2 separate regions of the Homo sapiens genome follow, and region 1 is linked to region 2. Evidence: promoter capture Hi-C in human tissues and cell types (Jung and others, 2019). All regions are on one chromosome and are shown on one strand. The core of a region is centred on a gene start or on the middle of the fragment in contact, and the rest is flanking DNA. Distances in the headings are between cores, read along the strand shown.

What was found. Contacts are between HindIII fragments. The study calls those that stand out against the background at their distance.
Region 1: a fragment that was not itself captured here is called in contact with the fragment with the promoter of OR5K3 in region 2 in 2 of the 25 tissues and cell types used here (adrenal gland and aorta).

The regions. Positions count from the first base shown.
Region 1 is chr3:98,247,478-98,254,286 of GRCh38, forward strand. No RefSeq gene overlaps it. Among named protein-coding and RNA genes, the nearest start is that of OR5H6, 13 kb to the right of the region's middle. The HindIII fragment of the contact is 4,375 bases long and covers 3,193-6,809 here.
Region 2 is chr3:98,389,405-98,396,568 of GRCh38, forward strand. It overlaps OR5K3 (olfactory receptor family 5 subfamily K member 3), which reads left to right and starts at 1,262. Exons shown (of 1, transcript NM_001005516.1): 1 at 1,262-2,227. The coding sequence starts at 1,262. The coding sequence ends at 2,227. RefSeq lists an enhancer at 7,118-7,164. The HindIII fragment of the contact is 5,260 bases long and covers 1-2,743 here.

The sequences.
Region 1 (6,809 bases), core at 4,130-6,629, 140 kb before region 2:
CTTGGAGTGAATAGAAGATCTTCAGTGGCAAGGTACACTCCAATTCTTCTATCCTGATGAAGTCCTTTTTTAGTTTTTTTTACTTTTCTACTCACTCTTATCCTTGCCCCCATTCTCCAGTCACTCTCTACCTCTCCCTAGTTACCTCCAGCATACTGTAAATCTCACCCACTCTCTCCTCACTTCCTCCAATCCTTCTCTAGCAAAGAATTGTTGGCTATGCGTTTCCCTTTCTTCCTGCTGTTACACAGCCATCCCCACTCCATGGGTCAACTGGGCTACCTCTCCTGTCTCCCTGCACCTCCAAACCTCCTTTAATAGCCCTCATCTTTACCCACCTGAGGAACTTCTTTACTTTCTAGACAGATTTGGTGAGAACTCCCCAGACATTTTGCACCAACAAGCTGCCACACTTCTCCACATCTACTCATGGCACCTTTCTCCTACATCAATTCCACTCCCCCTCCCCATATTTGGACCCCTAACCACACAAACAACTATCCCTGTTGCTGCTTCTTTATGCATCTCCTGACAACAGCCTGCTGGAATCCCTTTAGGCAACCTTCCACCGTCTAAATATTCCTTTACTCTTTATCTCCAGCCACACATTACCAGATGGGAGCATTCCAACTTTGCATTACTGATAAGCCCTCTATCATTATTGACAAACTAAAAAACATTGGCAGTCACTACTGTTTAGGAAGACACCTACCGTGCATCCTTGGCTACCGTCCCGCTGCTCATCTGTCTCTCCTCCTGGCCCCTCCTCTTGCTTGCTTATACCCAGACCCATGAATAGCAGTGAAAGCTTACTTGTAGACACTATGTGCTTTCTCTTATTCCATGAGAACTGAACCTCTCCCTCTATGCAGTTGCACCATCAATCCCCTTACAACCGCTAACGGCTGCTGTCCTTGCTGGATCTTTAGGATTTGGGGTGCAGGACTCCTCTTTCAGTACACCCTGTCACCTTTTTACTTTACATTTCCAGTTCTGCCTGACACAACATCTCTTTTTTTTATGTGGCTCTTCCACCTACATGTGCCTACCTGTCAAGTGGACAGGCACATGTACTCTAATCTTCCTTACCCCCAAAATCCAGCTTGCAGATGGGAATGAACAACTGCTTGTCCTCCTCATGACACCAACATGACAAAAAAGAGTCATCCCACTAATCCCTTTACTTGTGGGTCTAGGACTTTGTGCCTTCACTATTGCACTTGGAACTGGAATAGCAGGTGTCTCAACCTCTGTCACAACATTCTGCAGCCTCTCTTATGACTTCTCTGCTAGCATTACAGATATATCACAAACTTTATCTGTCCTCCAAGCTCAGGTTGACTCTTTAGCTACAGTTGTCCTTCAGAACCACCAAGGCCTCGATTTACTCACTGCTGAAAAAGGAGGACTCTGTATATTTCTTAAAGAGGAGTGTTGTTTTTACTTAAATCAATCTGGCCTGGTATATGATAACATCAAAAAACTCAAAGACAGAGCTCAAAAACTTGCTAATCAGGCAACTAATTACACTGGACCCACCTGGCCACTCTCTAACTGGGTATCCTGGCTTCTTCCAATCATTAGTCCTCAATACCTATCCTCCTCCTTCTCTTATTCAGGCTTTGTGTCTTCCAATTAATCTCTCAATTCCTACGAAACCGCATCAAGGCTATCACTCATTACTCTATACAACAAATGCTGCTTTTAACAATCCCACAATATCACCCCTTACCCCAAAGTATTACTTAAGTCTAATCTCTCCCACTTAAGGTTCCCGTGCCACCTCTAATCCTGCTCAAAGCAGCCCTGAGAAACATCACCCATCACCCCTCCATACAACCCCCAAAATTTTCACCCCAAGTTTTCACTACTCTTTCTTGTTTTATGTCTTCCTTATTAACATTAAAAAACAGAAATGTAAGGTCCTTTGATCTGGCTGCACCGTGGTCAAGCCATCATGACATTCCCCCCACCGTTGTGATAATGTACTTTGTGATATTCCCTGTCCAGTGCATGTACTTTGTAACATTCCTTCCCGCCCTTATGACAATACATCCTCCGTGCCCTTGTGAAGGTACTTTGTAACATCCTCCCCACCCTTCTGACAATACACCCTCCTTGCCCTTGTGAATGTACTTTGTAACATCCTCCCCACCCTTGAGAATGTATTTTGTAACATCCATCCACTGCCAGCAATAAATTGCTCCTGACTCCACCGCCTATCCCAAACCTATAAGAATCAATGATAATCCCACCACTCTTTGCTGACTTCTTTCTCAGACTCAGCCCACTCGCACCCAAGTGAATAAACAGACTTGTTGCTCTCACTAAGCCTGCTCAGATGGTCTCACACGGGCATGCATAACAGAAAGATCTCTACAAGTAGAACTACAAAACCCTTCTCAAAAAAATCAGAGATGACTCATACAAATGGAAAGACATTTCATGCTCATGGATAGGAAGAACCAGTATCATTAAAATGGCCTAAACGCCCAAAGCAATTTATAGATTCAATGCTATTCCTATCATTAGATTCATCAGAGAACTAGAAAAAACTGTTTTAGAATTCATATGGAACAATTCATATGGAAAAAGAGCCTGAATAGCCAAGGCCATCCCAAGCAGAAAGAACAAAGATAGAGCCATCATGCTACCCTACTTCAAACTATACTACAGGGCTACATTAACCAAAACAGCATGGTACTGGTACAAGAACAGATACATAGACCAATGGAACATAATAGAGAACCTAGAAATAAGACCACATACCTACAACCATCTGGTCTTCAACAAAACAAGCAATGGGGAAAGGATTCTTTATTTAAAAAGCGGTGTTAAGAGAACTGGCTAGCCTTATGCAGAAAATTGAAACTGAACTTCTTCCTTACACCATATACCAAAATAAACTCAAGATAAATTAAAGAGTTAAATGTAAAACCCAAAACTATAGAAACCTTAGAAGAATACCTAGGCAATACAATTCAGGACATAGGCATGGGCAAAGATTTCATGACAAAGATACCAAAACTGATTGCAACAAAAGCACAAATTGACCAATGGGATCTAATTAAACTAAAGAGCTTCTGCAGAGCAAAAGAAACTATCAACATGGGGTAAACAAACAACCTAAGAATGTGAGAAAATTTTTGCAGTGTGTGCATCCGACAAAGATCTAACATCCAGCATCTATAATGAACATAAACAAATTTACAAGAAAAAAAAAAACCCTATCAAAATGTGGGTGAACGATATGAACAGACACTTCTAAAAGAAGACATTTATGTGGCCAAAAAACATATCAAAAAAAGCTCAACATCACTGATCATTAGAGAAATGCAAATCAAAACCACAATGACATACCGTCTCACACCAGTCAGAATGGCTATTATTAAAAAGTCAAAGAATAATATATGCTAGTGAGGTTGTGGAGAAAAATGGAACACTTAGACAGTGTTGATGGGAGTGTAAACTGGCTCTACCACTGTGGAAGACAGTGTGGTGATTTCTCAAAGACATAAGAACAGAAATACCTTTTGACCCAGCAATCCAATTACTGAGGGTATACCCAAAGGAATGTAAATTGTTCTATTATGAAGACACATACATGTGTATGTTCATTACAGCATTAATCACATAGCAAAAACATGGAATCAACCTAAATGCTCATCAATAATAGACTGGATAATGAAAATGCAGTACATATACACCATGGAATACTATACAGTCATAGAAAGGAATGATACCGTGTCCTTTGCAGCAACATGGATAGAGCAGGAGGCCGTCATCCTTAGCAAACTAATGGAGAGACAGAAAACTAAATACTACAAGGTTCTCACTTATAAGTGGGAGCTAAATGATGAGAATATATGGACACTTAGTTGGGAACAGCACACACTGGGACCTATTGGAGGATGGAGGGTGGGAGGAGGGAGAATATCAAAAAAATAACTAATGAAATCTGGGCTTAATGCCTGGCTGGTGACATAATCTGTACAGCAAACCCCCTTGACACACGTTTACCTATGTAACAAACCTGCACAACCTTCACATGTACCCCTGAACTTAAAAGTTTAAAATTTTTATTTTTAATACTTGTGGATACATATATATATGTATGTGAGTGTGTGTATGTATATGTATATATGTGTATATATGTACATGTATGTATATGTATATATGTACCCCAGAGTATTTTTTTATATATTTATACTTATTCTACTATACAGACACATGCATTTGTGTCTTTATTGATGTGTTAGTCTCTCTCTCTATATTATATATATTATATATTTAATACTTGTGGGTACATATATATTCATATATATATACATGGGGTACATGAGATATTTTGATATAGGTATGCAACATGTTATAATCACATCATGGAAAATGAGGTATCCATCCCATCAACCATTTATCCTTAGTGATACAAACAATCCAAGTGTATTTCTTGGTAATTGTAAAATGTACAATTAAATTATTTTGACTATAGTAAACCTTCTGTCTACCAAATACTGGGTATTAATAATCATATCATGGAGAATAGAGTATATATCCTTTTACACATTTTTTTTGTGTTACAAATAATCCACTTATACTCTTTCAGTTATTTTTAAACATACAAGTGAAGAGGCAACCTAGCAAATAGGAGAAAACTTTTGCAATCTATCCATCTGACAAAGGTGTGATCTCCAGAATCTACAAGGAACTTAAACAAATTTACAAGAGAAAAACAAGCAATACCATCAAAAAGTGGGCAAAGGATATGAACTTCTCAAAAGAGGACATTATGTGGCCAAGAAATATATGAAAAAAGGCTCATCATCACTGGTCATTAGAGAAATGCAAATCAAAACCACAGTGAGATACCATCTCACCCCAATTAGAATGGCGATCATTAAAAAGTCAGGAAACAACAGATGCTGGAGAGGATGTGGAGAAATAGGAATGCTTTTACACTGTTGGTGGCAGTGTAAATTAGTTCAGCTATTGTGGAAGACAGTGTGGTGATTCCTCAAGGATCTAGAACCAGAAATACCATTTGACCCAGAAATCCTATTACTGGGTATATACCCAAAGGAATATAAATCATTCTACTATACAGACACATGCATTTGTATGTTTATTGAAGTGCTATTCACAATAGGAAAGACTTGGAACCAACCCAAATGCCCATCAATGATAGACTGGATAAAGAAAATGTGGCACATATACACCATGGAATACTATGCTGCCACAAAAAAGAACAAGTTCATGTCCTTTGCAGGGATATGGATGAAGTTGGAAACCATCATTCTCAGCAAACTGACACAAGAACAGAAAATCAAACACTGCATGTTCTCACTCATAAGTGGGAGTTAAACCATGAGAACACATGGACACAGGGAGGGTAACACTAAGCATCAGAGCCTGTTGGGGTGTGGGGGCCGTAGGGAGGGAGAGCATAAGGACAAATACTTAATGCATGCAGAGCTTAAAACCTAGATGACGGGTTGATGGGTGCAGCAAACCACCATGGCACATGTATACATATGTAACAAACCGGAACTTTCTGCACATGTATCCCAGAACTTAAAGCTTAATAAATAGTTTTTAAAAATTATTTACTACAGTCGCCCTTTTGTGATATCAAATAGTAGGTCTTATTTATTCTTTCTATCTATTATTTGTATCCATCAAGCATCCCCAAGTGCCCCTGAAATACCCAATACCCTTCTCAGCCTCTGGTTAACATTCTTCTACTCTCTGTGTGCATGAATTCAATTGTTTTGGTTTTTAGATGCCACAAGTAAGTGAGAATGTGTGATGTTTGTCTTTCTTTACCTGACTTATTTCATTTAACATGATGATCTCCAGTTCCATCCATGTTGTTGGAAATGACAGCGTCTCATTCTTTTTTATGGCTGAATTGAGACTCGTTGGGTATACATGCCACATTTTCTTTATCCATTCATTTGTTGATGGATACTTAGGTTGCTTCCAAATCTTGGCTATTGTGAACCATGCTGCAACACATATGTGCATGCAGATATCTATTCAATATACTGCTTTCCTTTTTGGGGGAGTATATATCCAGCAGTGGAATTACTGCATCATATGGTAGCTCTATTTTCAGTTTTTAGAGGAACCACCAAACTGTTCTCCATAGTGTTTATACTAATTTACATTCCCAACAACAGTGTATAAGGGTTCTCTTTTCTCCACATCCTTGCCAGCATTTATTATTGCCTGTCTTTTGGAGGCAAGCCATTTTAACTGGAGTGAGATGATATCTCATTGTAGTTTTAATTTGCATTTATCTAATGATCAATATGATGTAGAGCACCTTTCAAATGCCTGTTTTTCATTCATATGACTTCTTTTCAGAAATGTGTATTCAAATCTTTTGCCCATTTTAAAAATCAGATTATTCAATTTTTTTCCTATAGAGATGTTTGAGCTCCTTATATATTCTGGCTATTAATCCCTTGTCAGATGGGTAGTTTGTAAATATTTTCTCCCATTCTCTGGGTTGTCTCTTCACTTTGATGCTTGTATCCATTGCTGTGCTGAAGCTTTTTAACTTGATGTGGTGTCATTTGTCCATTTTTGCTTAGTTTGCTGTGCTTCTGGGTTGTTACTCAAAAAATTTTTGCCCTGCCCAATGTTCTGGATATATTCTCCAATGTTTTCTTTAGTAGTTTCATAGTTTGAAGTCTTGAATTTAAGTTTTAAATCCATTTTGATTTCAGTTTTCTATATGGTGAGAGATAGGGGTCTAGTTTTTTTCTTTTGCTTATGCATATCTAGTTTTCTGAGCACCATGTATT
Region 2 (7,164 bases), core at 12-2,511:
TATATAATTTTCTGAAGAAACAGAAAAATGGTAGAAAAGAGTCAATTTAGATAAAAGAAAGACACCTAAAATTTTATGTAATGATTTTATATATTTCTTTGTAGACTTTCCTTTAAAGCTAATAGTCTGCAGAAACCAAAGAATCATTAAGGATCATTAGTAGAATTCATAAAGCAACTTTACTCATTCCAGGTCATCAGGGTGGAGCTAATACTGAAATTAATACTGCCTTTTCCCCCATAGTATTTTACAGCTCTTTTCACAGAAGTATAAATCACAACTAACCTCAAAATGCTTACAATATAAGAAAATTGAATAGACTGACATTTTTAAAAAGCAATGTATATATAGGCAAGAAATTCTGAATTGTGTGGAGTATATAAGAGAGCATCTACCGTTCGGAAAATGGAAATCTGTGTGGACTGGGGCAATTAGTTAAAACTTTAAGTAGCATTATATAAAAAGTATTCCTTATCAAAAGGAGGAAGGATTTAGGCATGTAAGAGAAAATCAACAGGAATAATAGAATGGATAGAGTCAATGTTTATGAAATGGGTGTGACACTGGGGAAAGGGATGAGACAAGTGATAATCTACGGATGTTTATTTCTTTAAATCTCCAAGATAATTTTCTTTAAAGATAAATATTTTCCTCCTCAGTTCTTGGTGAATTTCATACAGTTCCTAAGATATAAATTTAACATATCTGTTATATGCTTTTTTAAAACATTCAATCTACTGGAAGAATATATAGAAATTATTTTCTTGGAGAGAGATGTGTGTGCGTGTGTGTGTGTGTATATATATATATATAGCCCCATATAATATATATATTCTATATTATATGACATATATATATATATTATAAATTTGTTTTAAGGAGGATCTTCAATACAAAACTGACAGTGAAATTATTTGAGAACAATGAACCAGATAGGGGTCCCCTAGTTTTTTATGCTATCCTTGCATAAATTTATAAAGATGAACCATTTCCACTTTAAACATCTTCCCTGGAATTATCAAAATATCCTTGTGAATCCTAAGGGTCAGAGCTTGAGGTCACAGACACTGACACTTTAGGAGAACAAATGTCCCCTAGAAGTATGTGAGGATGTATTTAGAAACAGCAGGGGAAATATGACAAAGAAATTCCTCTACTTGTTGTAAAAAGGAAAAAAATTGAAGGAACAATAATATGCTCTCAATTACAATCAATTACAATATTATAACCCCTCATTCATCTCTCAACAGACAAGGTGGAGATGAATAAGGAGAATCACTCCTTGATAGCTGAGTTCATCCTCACAGGATTTACATATCATCCAAAGCTGAAGACTGTTCTGTTTGTGGTGTTCTTTGCCATCTATCTGATCACCATGGTGGGGAACATTGGTTTGGTGGCATTGATTTATATAGAGCAACGTCTTCACACACCAATGTACATATTTTTAGGCAACCTAGTTCTGATGGATTCCTGCTGTTCCTCTGCTATTACTCCCAAGATGTTAGAGAACTTCTTTTCTGAGGACAAAAGGATTACCCTGTATGAATGTATGGCACAATTTTATTTTCTCTGTCTTGCTGAAACTACAGACTGCTTTCTTCTGGCGGCAATGGCCTATGACTGCTATGTGGCCATATGCAACCCACTGCAGTACCACACCATGATGTCCAAGACACTCTGCATTCAGATGACTGCAGGAGCCTACCTAGCTGGCAACCTGCATCCCATGATTGAAGTAGAGTTTCTGTTGAGGTTAACTTTCTGTGGGTCTCATCAAATCAATCATTTTTTCTGTGATGTTCTTCCATTATATAGACTTTCTTGTATTAACCCTTATATCAATGAATTGGTGTTATTTATCTTGGCAGGATCAATTCAAATCTTTACTATAGTCTTAGTTTCTTATTTCTACATCCTTTTCACAATATTTACAATGAAATCCAAGGAGGGAAGAGGCAAAGCTTTATCTACTTGTGCATCTCACTTTCTCTCTGTGTCAATATTCTGTGATTCCCTTCTCTTCATGTATGCTCGACCAGGTGCAGTTAATGAAGGGGATAAAGATATACCTGTTGCTATATTTTATACTTTAGTTATTCCTTTATTAAATCCTTTTATTTATAGCCTAAGAAATAAGGAAGTAATAAATATTATGAAAAAAATTATGAAGAAGAGAAAATTTTGTCACATTCTGAAACAAATGTCATCCCCTCTGGCAACTTGATAATACTTTATTTTAAATCAAGGGATAGTGAGGCAGTTTACAAGGCCACTTTGAATATAAAATATTAAATTATTTAAAAATAATGATATAGGAGTTCAAAATGTTCAGAAAGGAGAAATTCCTGTAAAATATACTTCAAAATCTAAGCTACTAGTGTTCATCAAAAGTGAACTAAATTATTCATGAAGTCTCAGATTGTGTCAGAGTGTAATTAGTTACAATTTTCAGCAAATCCAACAAATACTAGGAATAAATGTCAGTACATATAACGGTAGTGTGCATTTACTATTGTTGGCAAATTTCTGGAATCTTAAAGCATAATTTTACGAACTCAGGCACATTCCAAGTTCTCAAACATTAGTCCCTTTTTAACCAGAATCATCTGTGAGAAGTAAATTGTCTGTCTGAATTTGATTCTAACTTTTTTTGAGTTCTTTCAAGAGATTGCTTGAAAAATTATTCATGCAGAATATGTATTCTCTAATCAATAATATTTTCATATTTAGTGTTAGTCATTAGTCATTTTACATTCTCAAGTTCTATGAAACAGAGTACCTGTATTGATTGCTTTTCCCTTTCTATAATGCCATAATTTTAAAAATGTATTTCTGGGCTTGGCACAGTAATCTGGGCTTATGCCTGTAATCCTAGCACTTCCAGAGGCCAAGGCAGGTAGATCACCTGAGGTCAGGAGTTTGAAACTAGCCTGGCCAACATAGTGAAACCCCATCTCTACTAAAAATATTTTTAAAATTAGCCAGGCATGGTGCATCCTTATAATCTCGACTACCTAGGAGACTGAAGCAGGAGGATCGCTTGAACCCTGGAGGTGGATGTTGCAGTGAGCTGAGATCAGGCCACTGCACTCTAGCTTTGGTGTCAGAGTGAGACTCTGCCTCAAAAAATATATAGAAATAAATAAAAAGTGTGTTTCTGTGTCATTCACTCTCAACTCTTAGTAACACTGAATCCCAGACATCTATTCAGGGAAGAGTTTGTGACTTATATGGAGCCAGTGAGACAGAAAAGGTGATTTTTTCCTGAAAAATGAGTTTTCTTATTTTAAAAGAGATCCACAAAAAATAGTCTTTCTCTCTCTGAGTGTTACGGTATGCGGATATGAAACCCAGCAGAGCCAATTCCCTTTCACCATCAAGAGGAAAACCAGCCTGGAGTTGTAGTCAATACTCAAATGAGGGCATAGCTGAAGAAATCACACAGAAATAGACCCAAAATCTCTGGAGTAAACCATCTCTTCTGACTGTATAATCCAATAGACCTTCTTATCTTTTAAGCTTATTTGGCAGAGATGTTTTATTCATGACTGAATAAATACTAACGGATACATTCCTGCTTCTTGACTATCACTCGTATTTGTCTCTTTATATTCTATTTTAAATTAATCCTCAGGTGATCTTTTAGTTTTCAAATAACTTTTCAGTGGTATCCATTTTACTGTACAGCAAATTAATTAGGTTTTTTACTCTTATTACTATTTTAATTTCTAATAACCTTACTTTAAAAAAAATGAGGGACAGAGAAATTTCTTGTCTACAGAAATACAGTGGTAGAGCTCAGGAACCAAACCCAGGCTATCTGGCTCCAGAATCCATGGTCTTAACCACTAAGTCATACTGTACATAGCACAAACTAAAAGCAGGAGAGGAAACATTTTAACAATCTCAGCTGTGAAGTGGGCAGAGAAATAGGGCAGAGATTCAAAAGAGATATGGATCAAAGACATTTACCTCCAAATTTATTTTGAAAAATTTCAAACCTACAGAAAAGTTGAAAAAAGTATATGATTAACATTCATATACTTCTTTTAGCCAATTAAGCAATCAAACAATTGTTAACAATTATTGAACAATTATTAACATTTTACAATACTTGCCTATCACCAAATGTGTATATAGGTATATAATACCTATATACATACTTATAATATATATATACATTAATGCAGTACAAATGTACATATATATTACATGTCCATATGGATATTATACAAATGACACATATACACATAAATATATACTTACAATACATGTATACATACAGTTAATACCTATATACATAGATACATTTTTTAATAATCAAAACATCTAAATAGGGCACTGGCTTGTTATTAGCAGTTCCACCAACCTGAACTACTTTAATTGTAAATTACTGATGGGCTCACAGCAATAACAGAACATTAAGATGCTGTTAGGCATAAATGATGCAGAAAATAGGGATTCCAAGCATCTAAACAATATTTATTTATTAAATACACAAATATGAAAAAAATTTACTGAGAAATTGCTATCTTGCTATGCACTAAGCTAGTGTCAAAGAAAACCAGAGCAGGACAAAAGTTAAAGTGCTAAATACAAAGTTGATTCAGGACTATTGCCATAGGGGCAGAAAAACCCCAGTGTAGAGCTTCATTTCAAATGCAGCAGGGAAAAGGGAGGTCTTGTAGCCAAAGAAGCAGGGGGTGGCCAGCGAATGAAAAATTATTAAGAAGAGACATCAAATCTAGGGGGAATTCTGGTTGAACCAATCGAAAAGGATTTATTTATTCTTTTATTTATTTATATTTGAGATAAATAAATCACATTGTCACCCATGCTGGAGTGCAGTGGTATGATCATAGCCCACTGAATCCATAGCACCTGAATCCTAACAGGATTTTTGCTGAAGGCAAGCCAGAGTATTCAGATACCAAGAATGGGAAGGGAAGAATTTTGATCAGATATAGAAGGTCATCAGGTATTGAGGATGGGAGGATTCTTGCTAGATTGTCTTTCTGCATTATTTACTAGAACTAGATTTTACAAGAAAGTACACAAGTCAGCCAAAGAGAAGGTTCAGAAGCCTGACCGTAGTTTGTTCAAGGGAAAAAGAGGCATTCTTCCCTTAAGTTTATTTCTCCTCCAGTTTGCTCATTTATGACTAGCAAAACCATCTGCTTGTACCTGGTGCAGGTTGCTAATTGTATTGTGAGATCAATGAGACATTTAATGAGAGGGATACCCATAAAGAAAAACAGAATGATAAATATTAGAGGCTGCTCTGCTGGGTTTTTTTTCTTCCAAGAAGGAAGCTTAGAAGCAGTGTTAGCACACCTCTCCCACTTGAAAGGACAGAATAGCATGTAGAGATTTATGCTGTGAACTTTTTTCAAGAAGCAACACAGGAACTTAACAAGAAAACTGAAAGAAGCACAGGCTGTTTGAAAGAAGTGGCAGGCTACAGCCTACACTGTGAAACAGCCAAAAAACTCTAAGTCCCCAAAGTGTGAGAAGGGGACAGACTGCATCCAGGATACACATCCCCATCAGGGAACGTGAAATCCAGGCCATGGGGGAAGGCCTTTACCCTACCCAGAGCTGGGACTGATTTAGGGAATAGTGAGAAATATAAAAGTAGAGGCAGTAGTGGAAAGCACCTTGCAGGCATTCCCAATCTCTAGCATGGACTGAGGGAAACCATTCATTCCTTATTATACCTCACAGGGACTCAGGGAAGTCAGCCAAGTAGCTCAGACAGTGGTCACAGTTTGAAAGAAGCCTCCAGTTGAATTTTGGGATATAATATTGAGTGGGAGCAAACTCCCTTGGCCAGAACCCAGGGGCAAGTGGGAAGTACACTGCAGCCATGAGTGCAGGAGCCAGGCTGCCAAGGCTGCCTGGAGCTTAGCTCAGTGCTGCTAGCAGAACACTTCAGGAGTGAGAACAACTTTGCCAACTGTGTGGGATCTGGGTGAGGCTTACTGCCACCTGCTACTCTTTACTCCCTGTGCAAACTCTCTTCTGTGCAACAGAGGCAGTTACACTCCCCTCTGGAGCATTACCCCAGCAGCCTGATAAATGCCCTCTGACCCTCAGAGAAGCTGCAGCTTGCCACTCATGTGGAGAGTCAGAGCACAGCCCCAACCTGGCTGTGCCCCTCCACCCTCCCTGGTAGTGTAACACAAATGACAGAAACATTTAGGAGCTTTATGGCCCTGCCCATCACCTGAGAAACCAGAATATCTCCTCTGGGCAAAGCAGGGAAAGCTCAAATCCTGCTACTATTACAGGAGCAGGTACTCTTTGGCAAGTGCTACCTCCTGGCTGGAGGCCAGCCAACACAGTCCACTACAGCATCTCTAGATAGAATAAGAGTGTGCCCAGAAATAAGAAAACTGGTATCTGACCTCAGCTACCACCACTGCCTGCAACACACTGGCTAACCAGGAGGTCTGAGTCTGTCCACATGCCGAGTTCACTACCATCATAATCAACATTCAAGAAAAACAACACACTAAGGCTATCTATAATCAAGGATTCTCACAAAGTCTACATCACTCCCCTGCCACTCCCATCACAGCCAGTACTGGTACCAACTGCTGTGGTTTTGAGGAAAGGTAACATCACTAGAACCCTCACAGACTTTCCCCAGCACCAGCCTGGAGTATAGCAGCCCCACCGGGTGGTTAGACCCAGAAGAACAATCACTATAGTCTGGCTCTCAGGAACTCATACTCCTAGAGTATGGGAGAGAGCACCTCATCAATGGAACACCCCATGGGACAAAACAATCCAGTTCTTCTGGGTGAATATCTGTCTCAAAATGCAACCATGTCAACATTTCCCTGGTCAGCTATTTTTTTTCTGTAATTCCATATATGTTCAACTAGTATGAAATCTGTGCATATTGGAACCACGCAATGCCAAGACTGCCTACACTTACTTTTGAACTGATTGTCTAGGTTCCTAATAAAGAAGTCTCTACCTACCATGAAGGACCCTGAAGCAAAGAAGACAAAATTCTCAACAGAATCAGGAGCATCTCTATAAAAATTCTATTGTTTCCTTAACTTGAGTTATTAAAATACCTGGGACAAAAGAATCTGGATGGCAAGCCTTAAATCCCAGATTTTTCCACTGGTGGGAAGTTTCTTTCAGCAG